Linked DNA regions of Homo sapiens: region 1 is linked to region 2. Evidence: promoter capture Hi-C in 16 types of primary human blood cells and fetal thymus (Javierre and others, 2016). All regions are on one chromosome and are shown on one strand. Each heading gives the region's core, a stretch centred on a gene start or on the middle of the fragment in contact. The rest is flanking DNA. Distances are from core to core; before and after follow the strand shown.

Region 1 (5,068 bases), core at 693-3,192, 49 kb before region 2:
AACTTCTTCTAAGACCTGGCCTCTGTGGTTCATGTGTCCCCATGAATGCCCATGGTGTGACTATGACATGTGGTGTGTGCCTGTGTCAGCCTCTGTGTGTCAGGGCAGGGGCTCCTGTGGTGTGCCTATGTGTTGGGAGGGGGTGATGGTGAGAGCCTGGCTCCCTCTCCTCCTCCCCCATCCCTTCTCCCATCTGGCCTTGATCAGCCGGTCCCTAGGGAGGGAGCCGCGGTTTCGGATACAGGAAAATGTTCCAGGAAGCGGCCACTGTGCTGGGCCCTGCTCTGGCTCCCCCAGCGGAAATTGTTCCAGGAGGGAGGGAGGAAGGGAGTGTTGAGATAGGATTAAGGGAGGAGTGGGTTGGTTCTTGGCTCCCCTTTCCACAGGATAAAGCTGGATAAGTTGATGGGAAGCTCAGGTCAGCCAGGAACCTGGATGCTGCCACTGAAATCACTGAATGCAGGAAAATGGGCCAGCAAAAGAGGGTCCCCTTGCCTATCTGCTTCTCTTTTTAATGAAGTTTCAGTATTGGGACGAGGGTGGCCCCTGAGGGTCCCTCTTCTGGCCCTGCTATCATGTACACAAGCTGGAGACCAGAGCACCTGGGTCTTGTCTGAAAGTGGTGTGGCTTGGTGGGGAGGTAGGGGGCATACGATTCAGCTCCCTTTTCTCCCAACTGAGGGGGCTTTGAAGCTTGGATCCAGGACTGGGAGGGCTGCCTAATTGGGATAATGGAGGTTAATGGGGCGCCTGGAGGGGGTTGCCACGCTCCTAGATCAAAGGGGCCAGCTCTTCCCAGCCACCACAGCTGGAGGTCACAGCTGGAGGGGGAGGGGGAGGGGCTTCGGGCCAGCCAGCAGGGGGTGCTCCGGCCCTGGAAAGCCCGTCCTCTGAGTCTCTGATTCTCTTCTTCGCTTGGAACGGCTTTTGCTTAGAGAGTGCATTGGGGAGCGGAGGATAAGAGAATGGGGGAGCTCTGAGATCCCTACTCCTCTCTGTGTGGGGTGATGGGGAAGAGAAAGGGCATGAGAGACTGGCAGGCTGGGGGCCAACGGGATGTTGGCACCGTCGGGACCTCGGGCACTGCAAGATCCGGAGGAAGAAGCTTGGATGCAGCCTCGAGAAAGCTACGGCGGAAGAGGCAGGACTCCGGTCCTGGGTTCGGGCGGCTGAGAAAGGACTGGGCCGGGCAGCGGGGGGCGCTGGCTGGGCGGAGGCGAAGGGGCATCCGGAGTTCCCCCGCCGCCGCCCCCTCCCCCGGGCTGGCGCTCCCTCTCGGGCTCTAATCGGCGCGGCGGCCGCAGCGGGCAGAGTCAGCGCCGCCAGTCTCCGGGACGCGACTCCCAGCAATTGTGGTCGGGACCGCAGATATGCAGCTGCCTCCTGCCCGGGCGCCTGGCCCGGCCGGCCCCGCCCGCGCCCCGCCCCCTGCCGCCCGCCCCTCGGCCGCGCCGGGACACTGAGGCACGGGATGGAGGCGAGATCCCCGGCGGCCCTGAGCCTGGCCTAGGCCGCAAGAGACCTCCCAGCAGCCCCGGAGCTCACGACCTGTCCTGTCCTTCTGAGGGTGCCTATCTCCCCCACAGCTGTGGCTGGGGGCTAAGACCCCCCAAATCCTGCCTCAGCTTCAACCGTCCTTCTTGCCTCACACGTCCACGCGAGGTGGGGGTGGATGGGGGCATTGAACAGCGCTTTGAAATCCAGAGGGGGGCGTCCCATTGAGGCTATGTGGGGAGGAGGTGTTAATGTTGGTAGCTGAGTCCCAAGGACCTTCATTAACTGAGGCGGTGGAAAGTGGGCCTAGGTAGGCTTATAACTTACAGCGGGTTCCTATGTAGGGGAGGTGATGGAAGGTGGGGAGAGGGAGAAATGGGTGAAAAGGGGGAAAGGAAATAGTTCAGGAGGGATTGGGGCAGAGGGCAGAGGCGGGGGTTCTTCTGGGAGACTGAGGGCCAGGTCCTCAGATACTGCCCTGGCCCTTCACTGTTGGCCGGATCCAGCAACTGTCAAGAGCCATTCTCAGAACTGAATAGATACCTCTAAAATGCCTGCATATCCTGTGTGCAAGTGCACACATCAACACACAGATCAAGGGAAGTCATGTGTGACTACTCACCCCTCACATCTGATTGGACACCAAATCCTCTCCACCTCACATCCTCAATATCACCCCTTCATTGACTTATTTTTTTATTTTTTTTTTTCTTGAGACAGAGTCTGGCTCTGTCGCCCAGGCTGCAGAGCAGTGGCACAATCTCAGCTCACTGCAACCTCCGCCTCCCAGGCTCAAGAGATTCTCATGTCTCAGCCTCCCAAGTAGCTGGGATTACAGGCATGTGCCAAAAATTGGCACAGCCAATTTTTGTATTTTTAGTAGAGAAGGGGTTTCACCATGTTGGCCAGGCTGGTCTCAAACTCCTGGGCTCAAGTGATCTGCCCGCCTTGGCCTTTCAAAGTGCTGGTATGTGCCACCGTGCTGGCCCCCTCCACTGACTTCTGCTCATCCTCTCTGCTACTGCAGGCCACACCTTCCCACATCTTGCTTGGACTGCTGCAACAGATTGTTTCCTTGCCTCCGATTTTGCCCTTCTCCCAACTGTGACAATACTGCTAGGCACCATTTATGGAGCAACTACTAAGTGCCAGACACTGTGCTAAGAACTCAACACTTTTTATTGCTAATCCTTGTAACAACCCTGGGAGGTTACCATATTAAGTTGCCCCTTTCAACAGGAGAGGAATCTTAGGCCTCAAAGGTTAAATAGCTCACCCAAGCTTGCACCATTGTAAATGCCTGATTTACCCAGAACCGCCTGGCTCTAAGCCCTTATTTCATTCTCCTCTCTGAAGTCAGTCATTTCTCTAATATACGAGTATTCTCATATATTGCCTTTGGATCAAGTCTAGGCCCCTTGCATAGCTGATTAGAACTTCTCCATCAGCCTCCACTCTGTGTTGCACTCACACTCAATTTTCAGCATCTCAAAAGTTGTTAATCCCTCATACCTCTGAGCCTTTGCATATACTCTTCCCCCTTCCTACAACACTCTTCCTTTTTTTTTTCTTTTAGACAAGGTCTCATTCTGTCACCCAGACTATGTTTTTTTTTTTTTGTATTTTTTGTAGAGATGGGGTTTCGTCATGTTGCCCAGGCTGGTCTCAAACTCCTAGACTCAAGTGATCCACCCACCTCAGCCTCCCAAAGTGCTGGGATTACAGGCATGAGCCACTGCACTGGCACCACTCTTCCTTTTTTTACTTGATAACTCTTATTTGTCCTTCAGTTTCTTTACTTAGTCATGCTGTCTTCCAGGAAGCCTTCCTTAATTCCCCCCCAACACTGGCTTAGATTTACTCTTTTGTCTCCTATAACATCCAGTACTTATTTTTTATTTTATTTTATTTTTATTATTTATTATTTATTTATTTATTTATTTTTTGAGACGGAGTCTCTCTGTGTCACCTAGGCTGGGATGCAGTGGCACAATCTTGGCTCACTGCAACCCCCGCCTCCCAGGTTCAAGCAATTCTCTGCCTCAGCCTCCCAAGTAGCTGGGATTACAGGCATCTGCCACCACATCTGGCTAATTTTTTTGTATTTTTAGTAGAGATGGGGTTTCACCATCTTGGCCAGGCTAGTCTCGAACTCCTGACCTTATGATCTACCCACCTTGGCCTCCTACAGTGTTGGAATTACAGGCGTGAGCCACCACGCCTGGCCCTCCAGTACTTATTCTATCGAGATACTTCCTACTCTTTTGTATTAGTTGCTGGTTAGTTTGTGAGGTGAAGGGATGAGTCTGTCTTGCTTGTTATTGCATGCCTAAGTCTAGCCCAGTGTGCTTAGCACAAAGTAGGTGCTTTCTGAACATTTGTTGAATGAAAGAATGTTCTTTAAGTTCATTCCACATTTCAAAAATCTGGGCTCCGAGGAAGAATGCAGCAGGCCAGAGAAAGCGGGGAGACGTGTGTATTTAGGAATTTTTTTTTTTTTAAATGGAGTCTCGCTTGTCTTCCAGGCTGGAGTGCAGTGGCACAATCTCGGCTCACTGCAATCTCTGCCTTCTGGGTTCAAGTGATTCTCCTACCTCAGCCTCCAGAGTAGCTGGGATTACAGGCACGCGCCACCACACCCAGCTAATTTTTGTATTTTTAGTAGAGACAGGGTTTGTTTGTTTGTTTTTTGTTTTTTTTTTTGAGACGGAGTCTCGCTCTGTCGCCCAGGCTGGGGTGCAGTGGCGCGATCTCGGCTCACTGCAAGCTCCACCTCCCGGTCACGCCATTCTTCTGCCTCAGCCTACCAAGTAGCTGGGACTACAGGCGCCCGCCACCACGCCCGGCTAATTTTTTGTATTTTTAGTAGAGACAGGGTTTCACCATGTTAGCCAGGATGGTCTCGATCTCCTGACCTCGTGATCCGCCCTCCTCAGCCTCTCAAAGTGCTGGGATTACAGGCATGAGCCACCTCGGCCAGCCTGAGACAGGGTTTTGCCATGTTGGCCACGCTAGTCTCAAACTTCTGACCTCAGGTGATCCACCCACCTCGGCCTCCCAAAGTGCTGGGATTACAGGTGTGAGCCACCTCACCAGGCCTGTATTTAGGATTTTGAAGGACCATTCCCTTGAGTTGCTCAGCCTCACTCCTAGGGATGATGTGATCAGAACTCCATCACCCCAACTTCTTCTTATGAAAGACACTAGTATATTTCATGGATCAGATTCTAGGGTATCGTTTTTACAAAGGGTCATTTTCTAGAGATGACCAGGTTCTTACTTAATTCAATGTTGTCCCATTTTAGACACGGGCATCCAGGACAGGTCCCCTTGTTTCAGAATCAGACCCCAGTCTTCCTCTTCCTTTCATTTTTCACTTTGTCCCCTGCCATCCAGATTCCTTCCTGCTCCTTCCATGGCACTTCTGTTTCTGATTCTGATCTGCCTCTCCTAAAGCTGCTGAATTATATCAGGGCTCAATGTCAATGAAGGAACCCAAGGCTCAGGGAAGAGGGGAGCCAGAGTCAGTCCCAGAGGTCCTGCCTTGCAGCCCTGGTGCTGGAAGAGGGGATGG
Region 2 (4,797 bases), core at 92-2,591:
TATTAGCAAAGTGTAAACCACCAGCTTTATCTCCATATTAATGTTCTCAAACAGCAAAGGGAAATATTACATCTCAACTATACATACTCCTTGGTGTTCACAAGACATTAGCTGGATGTTGGTGTGAAGTCAGATAAAAGAGCTACAAAGTGTGTAATAAGAGTATTCTTGGCCGGGGGCAGTGGCTCACGCCTGTAATGTAATCCTAGCACTTTGGGAGGCCGAGGCAGGCGGATCACGAGGTCAGGAGTTCGAGACTAGCCTGGCCAATATGGTGAAACCCCCAACTCTACTATTAATACAAAAATTAGCCGGTCGTGGTGGCGCGTACCTAAAGTCCCAGCTACTCGGGAGACTGAGGCAGAAGAATCTCTTGAACTCGGGAGGCGGAGGTTGCAGTAAGCCAAGATCTCACCATTGCGCTCCAGCCTGGGCGACAGAGCGAAATTCCGTCTCAAAAAAGAAAGAAAAAAAAAAAGGGTATCCTCAAAATCATTGTGAGGAGAGGGTAATCTGAAGTAATCAAAACAATCCCCCTCCCCGCTTTTTGGGGGAGTGAAGGAGAAAGGGAGAAGGCAGCAGGTAGCCGTTCCTGTGGAAAGGATACAGAACTCGTCAGTGGGACGAGTAATTCTTTCCCTGTGAAAGCAATGAAGACAAACACCTGGGGAAGGTTAGCGGCTCCAACGTAAGACGTTAAAGAGAGTTCCAACAGGGCACAGCACCCACAGACAGTGTGAAAAGAACGGAAACAGGGGCAATAGGAGCAGAGGAATGTCCTGTACTTTTCAATTCTAGGCAGGCAACATGCAAAGGGTTCATGAAGCGGTATACGATATGTAATGGATTTTCTCGTTTCAGGTAAGAAAAACTGGGTTAGGAGGTGGGACGAGAGAAGCAGGTTCGCCACTTTAGGTTACCCTCACCCGCCTACCCCATACCCTCGTTGCTCTTGTTCAGCACGTTCAGACAGTCCTTGGCTTCCACATACTTGGTCTGTACCACTTTGAGCTGAGCAATGGACGTGGACAAGAACTCCACTTCCTACAGAGGACCGGGATAGCGGGTCAATGAGAGGACTAAGGGGAGAAAGGAGCGCGGCCGGGGAGGGGGCAGGTCCTGGGATCGGATAGAGGTTTCGCCTGGGAAAGGTAGGCTGCCAACTTGGAACCGGGCGCGAGAAGTACGCGTGGGCAAGGGGGATGTAGAGCAGGAAAGAGGTGCCTCTGGGGCCCGTCCCCACCTGGTCCAGCTGGTTCTTGAGCATTTCTAGCTGCGGCAGATTCAGCTCCGTGATGTTAATAGACTGCGCCATGTTGGGAAGGCCGACTTAACGAAGAGGAAGTCTCTCGGCGAGCAACGCTCTAGCCGTCCTCTGCGCGTCTCGGTGGCGCCGGGAGGCCTCGCTGCGCCAGACAGCTCTATGATCCTCCGTCCCGGAAGGGAAGGAGGGGCTTGAGCCTCTCAGAGACTGTTGTGTGAGTTCATTTCATAAAATGTCTTAAGCCTAGTATTGTAAAGTAGCAGCAAACAGGACTCCTGCCTACAAGGAACTGCAAAATCTTAAAGTTCTCACGACACAACCACGATATTACAAAGTAGTGTATGCTACTCCACGTGGGTGGTATAAGCTACTGGAAAGCAGGCTGGATTGCCATGGCGACGGCTCGGGGGCCTGGCCCTGCTCCTCTCCACCCCGCTTGCTATTGCTGCCTGCTGGTACCCCGCCAGGCCCGATTTCAAATGTTCCTCCCAGCACGGCATGGAAATGGCAGGGAAATTCTAAACTCTTTTTCCCAGATGGCCTCTGAGGCCGAAAGGCAGGAAAAAAAAAAAAATCCCTTGTCAGACCGTTCTGAATTGTCCTTGGAAAAAAACAGGCATTAGATTGAAAGCTTGTCGAAGGCAGGAACCAACCATGTTCTCATCACTGAACCAATTCTTCCCCTCTCGCTATAACCATCTTCCCCCAGCCGGAAGTAGGCTGACACGTAGTAGGATCTGAAAAAGGGTTTATCACCCGTTGCCAGTGAGGTGGTGGGAGAACAGCAAGGAAGCGCCATTGTCAACCAAGTACAGCACAAATTAATCAATAAAATATTTTGGCCGGGCATGGTGGCTCACGCCTGCAATCCCAGCACTTTGGGAGGCCGAGAAGGACAGATTGCTTGAGCCCAGGAGTTTGAGACCAGCTTGGGCAACACGGCGACACCCCGTCTCCACAAAAAATACAAAAATTAGCCGGGCTGGTGGCACACGCCTGTAGTCCCAGCTACATGGGAGGCTGAGGTGGGAGGATCGCTTGAGCTGGAGAGTTGAGGCTGCAGTAGGCTGTGATTGTGCACACTAGCAACAGAGCTAGACTCTGTCTCAAAAAAAAAAAGGTTTTACCATGTGCTGTATGTGAGGGATACGTGAGAGTGTAAGATACTTGCTTCCCTTGAGCTTAACAATTGGAGAGAAAAACCACACTAGAACTCCACAGATCCACAGACTCTACTGCTAAAGTTACACATTGGTAAGTGTAACAGGTGTACATGGGCAGACAGCAGTAGCCTTTAACATCTACTTAGGAGGCAGGCAGGGCAACTGAGGCATTAAAACTAGTGCCATGGCTGGGCGCGGTGGCTCACGCCTGTAATCCCAGCACTTTGGGAGGCTGAGGAGGGTGGATCACAAGGTCAGGAGTTCGAGACCAGCCTGGCCAATATGGTGAAACCCTGTCTCTACTAAAAATGCAAAAATTAGTGGGACGTGGCGGCATGTGCCTGTAGTTCCAGCTACTCAGGAGGCTGAGGCAGGAGAATCGCTTGAACCCAGCAGGCAGAGGTTGCAGTGAGCCGAGATTGCGCCACTGCACTCCAGCATGGGCAACAGAGCAAGACTCTGTCTCAAAAAAAAACAAAAACAAAAAACAAAACACTAGTGCCACTCCAAAGATACCTGCGGCAGGAAGACAGGACGGACGGATGGTACCTGGCCAAAACACTCTCAAAGGGTCTATCACTACCCTTCCTTGGGCCTGTCTCTACTTAGCATTTTGATGCCCCTTTCTCCTCCAGATTTGTCTGCTGAGGCCCAGCCAGGCCCAGCAGGCTTTGTCCTGTGTCTTTGCCTTTCTTCCCCAAGCACTCAAACTTGATCTGCTGTAACCTGTTCCTGTCAGCTTACAGTACCACATAGTAGGAAGGGGGCAGTCATGCCGTGTCTTTAAATGTTCTCAGATAAACTACGCAAAACAGGGTTTAAATGATGTATCTTTATTATACTGAGGTTAAATCAAAAGGAAATGTTTCATATAAAACACTGGGGAAAATCACTTTAAAAGAGTTATCCTAAGGATTAAATCTAACCTTGGAGGTAGAACAGTTATGAGGCTTCTAGCATCAATAAGACAGCTCCATGGGGTTACCGCAGAGAGACAGGCAAGCCATAGGCTATAGGTGCAGCCCCAATAAGATACTTGAGTCGGGGAGCTTGGCGGGCCTGGTTTACATAGTAGAGAAGGGGGGCCCCTGGGCCTGCTCCAAGCCAGCCTTGCAGCAGAGCTTCCGTGTAGCGGTCAATGTCGCGGTCAGTCACATCCCAGAGATTACCCAGAAACAAGGGGCTGGGAAAAGAAAAGGAGGAAATACAAAGTAAGGGCTCTAAAACAGAATACATAGGAAAACACCATTGGTGGTGGGGGTGGGTGAGTGGAGAGGATTGAACCAATGAGAAACTCCTTTGGCCCTTGGTTACAAGAGAAGAACAGAAGGGAGCTAAGGGTTAATGGTCCAGGCATGCCAGGGAACTAACTAGGATAGGAGGAAAATGGGGCACAAGAGAGGCAAGATTCAGACCTGGGAAAGAACCTGGGGTGAGGGCAGGAGTCCTAATGCCCTAGGATGGGTCTTGCCCTTGGAGACTCACCAACCAGCCATGATGTACTTGAGCACGATGCCAGCCCCCTCCAGGTTTCCACGCACAGCCAGGGCCGCACTGCTACAGCCAAACAGCAGGGCCACTGCCCGACAGCTCAGCCGCAGGACAGCCTGCCCATCAAGGAAGCGGGCACCAGCCCCATGCCCTGCATAGCTAAGGCAGAAGGAGGTGAGATGAGTCTTGAGCTAGTAATACCTGGCCTCTGCCTGTGTCTTCAGAGGCTCTCAAGTCCCAAAGCAACCCATGGTGATACCATCCTCAGGACTGCCCCTCTCCCCACATCCCTGCCTTAAGCACTCACATATACAAATCATGCTTTGTCAGGGCTTCCTGCACCTGTTCAGGTCTTGGCACCTCCCCAACCACTCCTCTCCAGCCAGCTTCACTGCAGGGAAAAGGCAGGTGTGAGAATAGGGAAATGCATGGCAGGGGTCAGGTGGCAAAGACAGCAGAGGGATCATTAGATAGAAGGTGGGCTGCAACAGCTGTTTCTGGAGAAAAGGCTTGTTGCCCCTGTATGTTGTCTACCCTTCCCCACACGTCTTCTTGTCTTCGCGCCCCTGACCTGCTGAAATTGGCTCGAAATTGCTCCTCTGTGCTTGACAGGTTATTGTGAGGGTTCAGGACATAGAAGGTACTTCGTGGATCCACCCCTTGACTCAGCACTGGCGAGGCCCCATACTGAGGAGGAGACACTGGCGATTAGGATGCTTGTCTCACCAAGAGGCCCAAGCTCTAACAATCTCAGCCCCTTTCCATGTCTGAGCCATTCCTAGGACCCTCTCCTATCTTCTCAGGTTTCTCTGCCCTTCTTTGTTGACGTCTTCCCCAGTCGCCAGTCATCCCCAGACACTACGCCCTGAACCCCACCTC

What was found. The method cuts DNA at HindIII sites, captures the fragments that hold promoters and counts their contacts. A CHiCAGO score of 5 or more calls a contact.
Region 1: a fragment that was not itself captured here is called in contact with the fragment with the promoter of PFDN5 in region 2 in 1 of 17 cell types (erythroblasts); the score reaches 5.5 in erythroblasts.

Annotation. Positions count from the first base shown.
Region 1 is chr12:53,341,187-53,346,254 of GRCh38, reverse strand. It overlaps a transcript of SP7 not described here. Among named protein-coding and RNA genes, the nearest start is that of SP7, 7.4 kb to the right of the region's middle. RefSeq lists silencers at 774-833, 1,224-1,393. The HindIII fragment of the contact is 1,670 bases long and covers 1,108-2,777 here.
Region 2 is chr12:53,292,086-53,296,882 of GRCh38, reverse strand. PFDN5 (prefoldin subunit 5) reads right to left here and starts at 1,341. Exons shown (of 6, transcript NM_002624.4): 1 at 1,244-1,341; 2 at 942-1,044; 3 at 608-639. The coding sequence starts at 1,315. It overlaps ESPL1 (extra spindle pole bodies like 1, separase), which reads right to left. Exons shown (of 31, transcript NM_012291.5): 27 at 4,795-4,797; 28 at 4,490-4,605; 29 at 4,226-4,309; 30 at 3,913-4,077; 31 at 3,245-3,610. The coding sequence ends at 3,409. RefSeq lists enhancers at 434-1,633, 1,119-1,658. The HindIII fragment of the contact is 3,517 bases long and covers 1-1,897 here.